3 separate regions of the Homo sapiens genome follow, and regions 1 and 3 are each linked to region 2. The links are contacts of gene promoters, found by promoter capture Hi-C in blood cells and fetal thymus (Javierre and others, 2016). All regions are on one chromosome and are shown on one strand. The core of a region is centred on a gene start or on the middle of the fragment in contact, and the rest is flanking DNA. Distances in the headings are between cores, read along the strand shown.

Evidence for each region. The method cuts DNA at HindIII sites, captures the fragments that hold promoters and counts their contacts. A CHiCAGO score of 5 or more calls a contact.
Region 1: a contact is called between a fragment that was not itself captured here and the fragment with the promoter of WNT7A in region 2, in 1 of 17 cell types (naive CD4 T cells). The highest score is 5.4, in naive CD4 T cells.
Region 3: a contact is called between a fragment that was not itself captured here and the fragment with the promoter of WNT7A in region 2, in 2 of 17 cell types (megakaryocytes and M2 macrophages). The highest score is 6.3, in megakaryocytes.

The regions. Positions count from the first base shown.
Region 1 is chr3:13,467,364-13,471,324 of GRCh38, reverse strand. No RefSeq gene overlaps it. Among named protein-coding and RNA genes, the nearest start is that of HDAC11-AS1, 11 kb to the left of the region's middle. The HindIII fragment of the contact is 4,191 bases long and covers 1-3,716 here.
Region 2 is chr3:13,877,659-13,881,642 of GRCh38, reverse strand. It overlaps WNT7A (Wnt family member 7A), which reads left to right and starts at 1,572. Exons shown (of 4, transcript NM_004625.4): 1 at 1,572-1,897. The coding sequence starts at 1,827. RefSeq lists enhancers at 1,594-2,095, 2,598-3,099. The HindIII fragment of the contact is 8,507 bases long and covers 1-3,984 here.
Region 3 is chr3:13,515,165-13,519,384 of GRCh38, reverse strand. No RefSeq gene overlaps it. Among named protein-coding and RNA genes, the nearest start is that of FBLN2, 32 kb to the left of the region's middle. RefSeq lists enhancers at 224-1,113, 2,487-3,415. The HindIII fragment of the contact is 2,885 bases long and covers 1,129-4,013 here.

The DNA of each region.
Region 1 (3,961 bases), core at 372-2,871, 410 kb after region 2:
TTAAACCCCCACAATTCTGATTTGCCTCACACTGGCCAGGCACGCCCCTGAAGCCAGAGGAAGCCCACAGGCTGAATCACAGGGACATGCAGTCGGAAGCCACCAACAGTGAACGCTGAAGGGTGGGGACTGCATGCCAATAACTGTGCTACGTGACGGGAGAGGTCTTCCCTGGCCACCAAATGTAAGCAGCACCCCTCCACGCCTGGTGTTCTCCATCGCTGCATCCTGTTCTTGCCCTTCAGAGTATTCACCAGACTTTGTACCATTACCCATGCGTACACAGACATATTTGTTTACTCACCTGTTAACTCACTTCCTCCACTAGGTTGCAAGCTCGAAGAGGGCAGAGGTGACATCTCTGTTTACTGCATGTACCCAGCACAGTGCCTGGCACCAATCTGCATCCACTAAACATTTGTGCCTGGATGAACACAGCCTGCATGGGCTTCATCTTCATTATTTGTTCTTATGTCTGTCTCCACCACTAAGTGTGACCTTTCAGAGCCCAGCATCCAGATCCAACCTGCCTATGGGTCCAGACCTAGCTCAAGACCTTAAAGACTGGCCGGGTGAGGTGGCTCACGCCTGTAATCCCAGCACTTTGGGAGCCTGAGGAGGGTGGATCACTTGACGTCAAGAGTTCGTGACCAGCCTGGGCAACATGGTGAAACCCCATCTCTACTAAAAATACAAAAATTAGCCAGGCGTGGTGGCAGGTACCTGTAATCCCAGCTACTGGGGAGGCTGAGGAAGGAGAATCATTTAAATCCGGGAGGTGGAGTTTGCAGTGAACTGAGATTGTGCCACTGCACTCCAGCCTGGGCGACAGAGCAAGACTACATCTCAAAAAAACAAAAAAAATAAAAAAACAAAAAACACACACACAAACAGAAAGAAATGTGCTTCATGTTACTCCCACCTGAAAAGTTTTCCCAGCTAATGGAACCTACACCAGAAGCTGTGTGAAATAAGCCATCCATGGACTGGACATTGCAGCTTCAGTGACAAGTAGGAATGAATTTGGCAACATGGGAGGGTAAGGGAAGCATTTGAAAATTTAACAAGATTTGGCCACCAGTGTCTGAGTTTTAACTGTAGTAAAAACCAGCCAGGCCGGGCGCAGTGGCTCACGTCTGTAATCCCAGCACTTTGGGAGGCCGAGGCAGGCAGATCACCTGACGTCAGGAGTTCGAGACCAGCCTGGCCAACATGGTGAAACTCCGTCTCTGCTAAAAAATACAAAAATTAGCCAGGCGTGGTGGCAGGAGCCTTAATCCCAGCTACTTGGGAGGCAGAGGCAGGAGAATCATTTGAACCTGGGAGGCAGAGGTTGCAGTGAGGTGAGATCGAGCCATTGCACTCAAGCCTGGGGCACAAGAGCAAGACTTCTCTCACACATACACACACACACACACACACACACACACACACACAAACACCAGCCAGGCACGGTGGCTCATGCCTGTAATCCCAGCACTTTGGGAGGCCGAGGTTGGCCGATCACCTGAGGTCAGGAGTTCAACACCAGCCTGGACAGCATGGTGAAACCTCATCTCTACTAAAAACACAAAATTAGCCAGGCATGGTGGCGGGCACCTGCAATCCCAGCTGCTCGGGAGGCTGAGGCAGGAGAATTGCTTGAACCCAGGGGGCAGTGAGCCAAGATCACACCAGTGCACTCCAGCCTGGGTAAAAAAAGAGCGAAACTCCATCTCGAAAAAAAAAAACACAAAAATCATGAACTTTACCATATTAACCATGGGTAAGTATACAGTTCAGTAGTGTTAAATATCCTTGTGCAACAGGTCTCTAGAACTATTTTTTCTTTTTCTTTTTCTTTTCCTTTTTCTTTTTTCTTTTTTTTTTTTTTTTTTTTTTTTTTTTGAGATGGAGTCTCACTCTCTTGCCCAGGCTGGAGTGCGATGGCACAATCTCTGCTTACCGCAACCTCCACCTCCTGAGTTCAAGTGATTCTCCTGCCTCAACCTCCTGAATAGCTGGGATTACAGGCACCCGCCACCACCCCCTGCTAATTCTTGTATTTTTAGTAGAGATGGGGTTTCACCATGTTGGTCAGGATGGTCTTGAACTTCTGACCTGAGGTGATCTGCCCACCTCAGCCTCCCGAAGTGCTGGGATTACAGGCTTGAGCCACCACGCCTGGCCCTCTGGGACTTTTTTATCTTGCAAAACTGAAACTGTCTTCTCCTTATACACTAACTCGCTCTTTCCCCTCCCCTTTGCCCCGGCACCCCCCATTCCATTTTCTGTCTATGAAATTGACTGCCCTAGGTACTTCATGTAAGTGGAATCACACAGTATTTTTCCTTTTGTGACTGGCTTATTCACTTAGCATAATGTCCTCAAGATTCATCCATGTCGTAGCTTAGCTCAGAATTCCTTTCCCTTTTAAGGCTAAGTAATATTCCATCATATGAACAGAGTACATTTTCTGTATTCATTCATCTGTCAATAGACATTTAAGTTCTTTCCACCTCTTGGCTATTGTGAATAATGCTGCTATGAACATGTACGTGCAAATATCCATTGGAGTCTCTGCTTTCACTTCTTTTGGACATGTACCCAGAAGTGGGATTGCTGGATCATATGGCAATTCTATCTTTAATTTTTTTAGGAACCATCATACTGTTTTCCACAGCAATTATACCATTTTGCGTTCCCACATCAGAACAAGGGTTCTATTTCTTCGCATTCTTGCCAAGAGCTGTTATTTTCTTTTTTTTTTTTTCAATAGTGGCAATCCTAATAGTGTGACATTTCACTTCCTAATAGAAGTGACATTTCACTGTGGGTTTTTTTTAATTTTTTATTATTATAAATATATTTTTGAGACAGGGTCTCACTGTGTCACCCAGGCTGGAGTGCAATGCAGTGTCTCTATCCCAGCTAACTGCAACCTCCACCTCTCGGGTTCAAGTGATTGTCCCACCTCAGCCTCCCCAGTAGCTGGGATTACAGGCGTGTGCCACCACTTCCGGCTAATTTTTGTATTTTTTGGTAGAGACGGGGTTTCACCATATTGGCCCAGCTGATCTCTAACTCCTGACCTCAGGGGATCAGCCCGCCTCAGCCTCCCAAAGTATTGGGATTACAGGCATGAGCCACCACGCCCAGCCTTCATTGTGGTTTTGATTTGCACTTCCCTACTAGTTAGTGGTGCTGAGCACCTTTTCGTGTGCTTGTTGGTATTTGTATATCTTCTCTGGAGAAATGTCTATTCAAGACCCTTATTCATTTTTTATTGTGTTGTTGTTAAGTTTTAGGACTTCTTTATATATTCTGGTTTTTGGCCTCTTGTCATATATATGATTTGTAAATATTTTCTCCTATTCTGTAGGTCGCCTTTTCACTCTGTTGGTTTTTTTGAGGTGAAGAAATGTTTAAGTTTGATGTAATTCCATTTGTCTATTATTGCTTTTGCTGTCTATCCTTTTGGTATCCTATCCAAGAAATTATTGCCAAACCCAATGTCATGAAGATTTTCCCCTGTGTTTTCTTCTAAGGGTTTTATAGTTTTAGCTCTTACATTTAGGTGTTTCATCCGTGTTAGCGTGTGCTTTCATTATTTAAATACACTCTGCATGGTCAAGCAGTCTGTAGTCTGCAGGGAAATCATTGAGACTCAAACTCGGCCAAGGTTAGGCCTAGACATGGTTCTCTTCAGGTTATTGGATGATGGGGCTCATGAAGCTTTAGTGGGCTCTGGGCTCCTTCCCAGCACTCGAGGACATGCCCACTGGTCCCCATCTTACAACATTCATTGTCCTTATCATCTTTGATGTCACCAGCCTCTCATCACACAGGTTTGCATCATATTGATATCAGTGATGAGGCCCATCTGCTCAAATGCTGCCGGGAAGATGGGCCAGGAGTGATGCTCTTTTTTAAGCTGAGAAAAATAAAGCTTCCAGGCATTCTCACGTAGCAAGCATGGCTC
Region 2 (3,984 bases), core at 323-2,822:
TTCCTGCAGTGCTGGACCCCTGATGCTGTGTCCTTCAGGCCTCACCTCAAATGCCACCTCCTCAGATCTAAAATTAACCCTCCAACACCCAGTATTCCCTCTCCCATCACCCTGCTTAATGGTCTACTATCTGCAACTCTGTTCTTGTTCACTTATCATCTGTCTCCTTCCTGGCCCCAAGAAGAAAGACTGTTGCCTTTCTTCTTCCTTGTGTCCACGGTGCCCACTATCGTGGTTGGCACAGAATATGGAATATGAATGAATACCTGAATGGTGGCTTTCGGGTGTGTGTGTGTGTGTGTGTGTGTGTAATTTAGAAAGGCAATCTTGAAGGATAGTCAGGACTGGGTGCAGGAGGTTACTACAGTTGGGCATACTTTGTTTCCCATATGGTTGTGCCACTCGCTAGCTGGTGACTCTGGGCAAACACCTTCACCTCCTTGAGCCTCAGTGTCTTCAGCTGAAACCTGAGTTCAGATTTGCCAGACCTGGGCATAGGGACAGCAGGTCCAGCAGGAACACCAAGCCAGGACCACAGCCACTCCCAGGGAGCTCAGTCCCTGGAGCCCGAGAGGAACACTCTCCGGAGGCGCAGGCGCAGCCGCTCCTAGAGACTGGGCAACCCCCAGGTGGCAGGCGGGACCGGTCCGTGCAAACAGGGAACAGGTACCCGGAGGATGGACATTCGCTGGCAAAAACATAAACTGCCGCTCGGAGTCTTGGCACCACCCAATTTCCAGGGACGGTTAGACTCCCCCTAGCTCACTGGATGAGGTGTACACCAAAGAAGGGTGTTAGCCCCCTCGGGTCGGCCAGGGCACTCAAAGCATTCTGTTCCCGGGAGCGAGGCCGAGGTGCACCACCCGCCGCGTCCGCCTGGTGACGCCGCGAGCGCGCTCTGAGCGGCCAGCTGCGCCCCTCACGCTCCCGCGGCTCAGGCGCCCCACTGCTGTTCCGCGCGGGGCAACTGGGCCTCAGCCCGACTCAGTCTGTCGGCTAACAGCAGGATCCCAGAGGAGGCTGCCCAACCTGGGCACCCCCTGCCGCCACTCTCGAATAGGTGGGAGTAGGGAAGAAATACACTGAGCCAGTCAGCCCGTCGCTCCGCGAAAGGGGGCGCCCTCCCCTGAAGCTGGGGTTGGGGAACTGGGGTGTGCCCTGTCAGCCCCAGCTCCCTGTTCCGGGCTGGAGGGAGCAGGGCAGCAGACCAAGGCACTAGGCCTCTCGGCCGAGTCTGGTCCACTCCACCCGAGGGCAGCCTCTGGACGCCCACTCGCCCTGCAATCTGCAAGTTAGTGACGGGTGGGGGGCGAGCGGGCTCCTACCGCCTCCAACCGGGCTGTGCTCCCCAGCCTGCCACCTGCACCCCGGAGCAGGGAGGGGGCCCCCGGGAGCGCGCATGGAAAGGCGCGAGCGCGCGCCTTGTGCAGGCGGCCCTGTCCCGCGGGCGCAGGGGCGCTGGGCGGGCGCTCCGGGGAGGCGGGCGGGGGAGGGGGCGGGGGAGGGACGGGGGAAAGGAGGGAGGGGCGGGGGCTGGAGGCAGCAGCGCCCCCGCACTCCCCGCGTCTCGCACACTTGCACCGGTCGCTCGCGCGCAGCCCGGCGTCGCCCCACGCCGCGCTCGCTCCTCCCTCCCTCCTCCCGCTCCGTGGCTCCCGTGCTCCTGGCGAGGCTCAGGCGCGGAGCGCGCGGACGGGCGCACCGACAGACGGCCCCGGGGACGCCTCGGCTCGCGCCTCCCGGGCGGGCTATGTTGATTGCCCCGCCGGGGCCGGCCCGCGGGATCAGCACAGCCCGGCCCGCGGCCCCGGCGGCCAATCGGGACTATGAACCGGAAAGCGCGGCGCTGCCTGGGCCACCTCTTTCTCAGCCTGGGCATGGTCTACCTCCGGATCGGGTAAGGGCTGCCTGCGCCCTTTCCGCGCGTGTTTCGACAAAGTTGGCACGGCCCGGGGAGGGAGGTGTGCCGCCTGCGAGCCTCTGCCGGCCAACTTCCACAGCTTCTCTGAGAGGCCGGGTGGGTGCGGTGTGGGAGCGGTGGACGCACAAAGGCCCCCCGCAGGACACCCCAGGAGATATAGGCAGGGGGACTGGCCATCCTGAGGACGTCTGAGTCTGGAATCCCCCAGGACCAGAGACAGCCGGTAGGGACGCTCCAGCCTGAGGGACTCTGGGGGAGGGCTAGCTGCTGCAAAGGTTCAGCCCATCCCGGGGACCCTTCGGACCCGGGCATAGGGACAGCAGGTCTAGCAGGAACATCAAGCCAGGACCACAGCCAATCTCGGGGAGCTCAGTCCCCGGAGCCCGAGACGAACTCTCTCAGGAGGCGCGGCACAGCCGTTCCTAGAGACTGGGCAGTCCCCAGGTGGCTGGCGGGGCCGGTCCGTGCAAACAGGGAACAGGTACCCAGGAGGAAGGACATTCGCTGGCAAAAACATAAACCGCCGCTCGGAGCCTTGGCACCACCCAATTTCCAGGGGCCCTTAGACTCCCAGAGCCCCTTCCCGGGCCAAGGGGACAGCACGTCCCACCCCCAACAAACACACACAAAGGTGGGACGAGAGGCGGTCTGAGACACAGAGGGAGACAAGCGCTAGAGAGAGGCGGGACACCCCGCCCCCTGGAACTGGGCAGCAGAGGCGGCCGGGCGCGCGAGCAGCCCTCCGGCTTCACCTAGCGTTTCTGTGGAGGTGGGGCTCGGGGGCGCTCTGGCTGGAAGGTGGGAGGGGGCAGCTCGGGACGCGTCCTGGAGCTGCTTGTGCAAAGCCGGTCACCCTTTGTACTTAAGACAACGCGTGTGAGGCTCGGAGCGGTGTGGGGGCGGGGGGATCTGGGCATGGATAGAGGTTCTGGCGCTGAAGGGCCCGCTTGGTAGGTCTCACACACCCTGCCCCTCCAGCCCCCAGCAGTGAACCCATTACCATCCCTTTTGAGGAGGGGTGGACCGCAGGGGCTGCGGCGAGGGGATGTGCGTGGCAGACCCTTTGTGTTTTGTCACTACTACCCCCCTACCCCGTCACTTCCCCAGTCCACGTCTCTGGAGCGGGGATTTCGCAAGTTGTCCGGCCGCGGCCGCTAGCAGGTGCGTGCAGAGCCGACCAGGGGCCGCCAGCCCGACCAGCGGCGGAGAGGCGGCTGCGGGGCTCGCGCCAGTACCGCCAGCCTGCCGGTGTGTTTTAAGTGTTATTGATTCGCCCGCGTCTGGGTGGCTTTCCTTTTTTTCCCCTGCTTTAATCTTCATCTTGGCCCGCGCCCCGCCGCCCCGCGCACATTCAGCATCCAGGAAGCCAGTAGGGCCGATTGGCTCGAGCCGATTGACTCGGGCCGCGTGCGGCTTTATCTCCTTTTTAATTAGAAACGGGGAGGAGGGACACGGGTGGCGGGGGAGACAGAAAGGGAAAACAGCAGAAAATAACCTCCCCTGGCCGCCCCGCCCGCCCGCGGGCCGCCCTCCCGCCGGCGCCGCGGCCTCCCCGGATTGGCCCTGCGGGGGCCCAGCTGCCCGGCAGGGAGGGAGGGAGGGAGTCCTGCAGGGCGCTGGCTTTCCGCCCCAAGCTGCCCTCTGGGGTAGGGAGAGGTCCAGGTCGGAGAGGTGGGAGTTGCAGGTGACTTCGGGCCAGGCCCTGCTGCTCCCTGCGCCTCGGGCTACTCATCTGTATAGTGGACATGAGGGGTGAAGTCTCAACGTCCCTAAAAGGTTTTTCCATTTCCCCAGACGTGACGGCTCTACCCGCTTCTGGCTGATGGTGGGGCATCTGCGGTATTCTTATTTTGCTCGGATAGTTCAGGTGACTCCGCACTAGCCTATTGCAACAATCAGATCCGATAACGATAATGATAATTACAACACCACCACCACATTTATGGGGCACTCACTATGTGCCTGGCACCTTCTAAGCACTTTCCATGTTCTAGCACATTTGATTTTCACAGCAGCCAATGAGGTGGGGACTAGTTATCAATACCCTAATTTAGCCATGGAGA
Region 3 (4,220 bases), core at 1,322-3,821, 360 kb after region 2:
CAGCCTAATCCTGTGGGTATCGGGCGGCAGCATCAGCACCACTGCAGGAAGGCCTTCCCAACAGACGCACACACACCATTGTCCCACTCCCCAGACTCTCCGTGTTTATTTCCCTCTTGTCCTCATTAGAATGTCTTCCAAACAGTCCAGCCCTGTGTGTCATAGGACCTGGGGGCAGGACTTCCAGTAATGCTGGGGCCAGGGTATCAGAGGAGGGAAGGATACCCGGCCTCGCCCACCCCCAGAGGTCTGGAGTCATTGGGGAGGGAAGAGGGGACTCTGGAGACAAAGTCAGCCGAAGCACTGTCACCAAGCTTCCCCCAACCCAGGAAGCCGCCCCTCCAGGGTCAGCCTCGGGGAAGGGAAGGACCAGCCCTGAGGACAACTCAGGGCTGAGTGTGCGACACCCAAGGCACAGTGAACCCAGAGTCCTGGTCTGCGAGGCCCACGGGCTGGGGCCTGCCTGGGTCTCGCCAGCCCTCCCAAGGCCTTGGCCCCAGGCCCTGATGCCTGGTCCCAGCTCCCAGGCCCTAGACTCTGCCAACCCTGGCAAGATGCCCTCCCTCCCCTCAGCAGGCGCCGCCTTCCTCCCCTAGCCCAGGAATTGCCCCATGTGTCCAGCCACACGAGGAGCTCCCGGAGCTGGCTTTGTCCCAAGCATCCTTCCAAGCAGAACATATCTGCTCCCGCCTGCAGGCTTCCCCGGGCCTCCTGCCACCAACCCTTGGGGGGGCAGCCACAACATTTGTGCTGAGCCCAGGCCGACAGTCCCTGGCACTGCCTCTGCAGGCGGGTGCCCACTCTTCACCTCGTGCCCGAGAGACCTTGGTAGAACGCTGGCCGAGCCTCCACCCTGCACTTTCTCCTCCCCACCGTCTGGCCTACATTCCTGGGATGGACCCAAGTTCCCATAGGCAGAGAATCCATCCCTGGGCTGGCATCGTTTGGGAAAAGCATCAAGGACTTGCCTGGAGGTATCCAAGGACTCCGAAGCAAGTGCCAGAGCAAACCCCACCCGTGCCTGCTTCCTTCCTCGGGCCCTCTGGATGGATAAGGGGAGGTGGAGGAAGACAGAGGCACAGAGGTCAGACTGCAGACCAAGCCTTTGGTGTACATGACAGCCAAGCTTTACCTCTACGGCATTGTGTTGGTGGCATTACTGTCCCGCTTTATAGAAGAAATGGAGAAAAAGAGAGAAAGGACCTGCCCAAGGTCACACAGCCAGGAAGTGGCACAGGCAGGATTGAACCCAGGACCCATTTTCAATGCCCCTGAAACCAGCCTGCCATGCTTGGGGCCTGAGCCTCACTTGAGCGGGCATGGGAAAGATGGCAGCCTCCTTCCCATCAGTGGGTAGGGCTGGAGGTCGATGGTCTTGGACCCTGGATTCACAAGGACCTTGGAGCCCAAGTCTCCACGCAGTAGCTGCCTCCTCCTGGATCAAGTTTATTAGGCCCTATAACTGGGCTCCTGCCTCAGTTTCCCTTGCTGCCTAGAAGGCTGGGTCCTGCTGCTCCTCCTGGGTCCAGGAGACAGTTCCTGTGTGGCTGTCCTGACCAAGGTTACAGATCCCTCACCTTCCTTCTAAGGTGGCTCCTGGTGCTCACTAAGCACATGTGAGCACCCTGGCCCCGGACCCCACCATGTGCCTCCTGTCCTTTTTCCTGGGCCTTGAGTTGGAAGGGCAGCAGGGACAGAGGGCTCCGCCCCCGGTTTCTCAGTAGAGGTAAAAGATGGAGGCCGACAGAGGGTCAGGGCCTGCCTCAGGCCACCCAGTGCACAACCTGGGTCAGCCAGGGACTGTCCCAGGCCTGGGAGCTGCAGAAGCCGAGGGGAGGGTGGGGCTGCCGGGGGCTGGGGCTGATGACTGCTCTATCTTCCAAACAACAGCAGCAAGGGATGGCAGCCAGGCTGTCGGGACAGCCTGTTCCCATAGCGGGGCCCAGGGGAACCTAGCCTGACCACACCTCGGCTATGCCGGGCCTGACATCTGTGCAGCTGCATCGGGTGACCCAGGCTGGCCCTGTCCCTGCTCAGTTCCTCCGAGGGCTGCAGCATGGCAGTAGCCCAGGGCCCGCGGGTCCACCATTTCCGCGGCTGATGGGGCTGGGGGTCCTCCCCGAGGTCAGGGGACCCATCCCCTGCCTCTGGGGGCACCTGCCAGGCTGGTGGAAGAAAGAAGGGGAGAGAAAGCTGAGGAAGCAAGGGAGGGAGCTGCCACCCACTCCGCTTCTACTTCCTGCAGCTTCTGTGAGGGGCTGTCACCTCCGGAGGCTTGCTGTGGGTGCACATGGTACGCAGAGACAGTGGACGTGGCTGGCCCACACCAGGCAGCTGTGTGCGGCAGAACCCTCGCATCCAGCCTAGAGTGCCTATAGCAAGGGCTGCCATCAAGACCACTTGCTTCTGGGCATGGTTCTGAGTGCTTTACATGAGCTGACGCATTTATTCCTCACAGCAACCCCAAGAGGCAGCTACTAATATTATCCCCATTTTATGGATGAAGTAAATGAGACTGGGGCGGTTAAGTCATTCACCTAAGGTCAAAGGAAAGTGGGCCCTGACCAGTGCCGTCCAGTTTATCCCAGTACCGGTACCCCTGTGGATGGAAAGGGTGAAGCCTGTTCCTCCCACGCCCACTGATGTCTCCTCCAACACCGCCCCCCGCCTCCCCCGCCTGGCCTGGCTGCCAGCAACTCCTTGGACGCTCCAGGTGGAAAAACAATTGTGGGGCTGGCTCGGGTGGCTGGAGCAGCCGGGAGCTCCAGGCTTGGTGTCCCACCTATGCCAAGCCGCCAGAGCAGGGTGGGGGATGGGAGCACTTGCTCAGGAGCAGGGTGGGGATTCAGAGGAGACGCTGGGGCCCACCAGGGATGGCAGAAGCAGGCCTCTACCCCGGCCTGGCCAAAGTCGGCTCTGGGCCTGCTCCCCACAGTCAGAAGGGCAGGGGGAGCCCCCCAGCAGGCACCAGCCAACTTCCCTCCCGACTGGAGCAAATGACTGAGTCTTTACCAAGCGCCTACTAAGCACCGCAGGCCCTGTTCCGGGGGTCGAGTCAGGGACAGACCCAATCCTGCCCCTTTACTGCCTGGCAGGAAGAACAGGCAAGGAAACACACAGTCTCAAGAATGCTTGCTTGTTTCAACTCCCTGGGGATCTCAGTTTGAGCTGAGGAAACTGGGGCTCTGGGAGACGAAGTGAATCGCCCAAGCACTCAGCAAGGCCGAGCTGAGATTCTGAGCCCTCGTGCCTGGGCTCTGAACTCACCCAGATCCCACCTTGGTGCCAGCTGCTTCTCATTGAGCACCTACTGTGTGCTGGGTCATTCCCAGGCCCGCCCGACCCTCCCAATGGCCCCCCAGGTGGGTATGGCCATTGCCATTTTAGAGAAGCGGTAGCCGAGGCTCCGAGTCGGGGAACCACTTGCTGAGAGTCACCTTGCTGGAAAGGGACCCCACCCCAGAGTGTCTGACCCCAGAGCCCACAGCCTCCCCCAGACTTTTTCTGGAAACTCCTGGCATTTAGGGGAGTGAGAAAGAGCTGTCCTGAGCAGGTCAGAGTGGTGTCAGGGATGCTGCCAGTGGGGCCACCTCCTACACTGGGGACAGCTGGGGGCTGGACCTTGGCTGACACTATCCTTTTACAATGATACGTTATTCATCTAGCTTAAGCCACACAGATGAGAACTCTCTAGATAATTTTGGTCTTTCCTTTTAGACAACAACACAGTTATAATTTAACTATTTTAAGAGGACATGAAGTCTACACAATGTCTTCTCTGCGTTAATTACCATGGTGAACCATTTTCAGGCCACAGACCAGTACAGTGAAGGTCTTGGTGCTCAGTGAGATAGGGAACGTTACTTGCACCTACACAAATGGCCCCAAACTGATATTTTGTTGTTATTCTTGTTCTTATGTCTGCATTTAACGGTTGTTCTGTCTCTCTCTTATTGTTGAGCTGTTATTTCTAAAAGCGCTAAGGGTTTGCTCTGGAAAGTAGAAAATAAGCTTGATGCATCTTGTGAGTGTCTGAGTTATCAATGGTTCTGCTGTGAGCAGAACTTAACAACAAAGGGAATTCACCAAAATAATAAATTACACCAAGTACTTATCGAGCTAGAGAAGCTCTGGGGACTCAAGGATTAAAATCAGGGTCTTGATTATGGCATGGTCACTAGCCTTTGCAGCAATTGTTTGCAAATTAGAAAAAGGCTCCA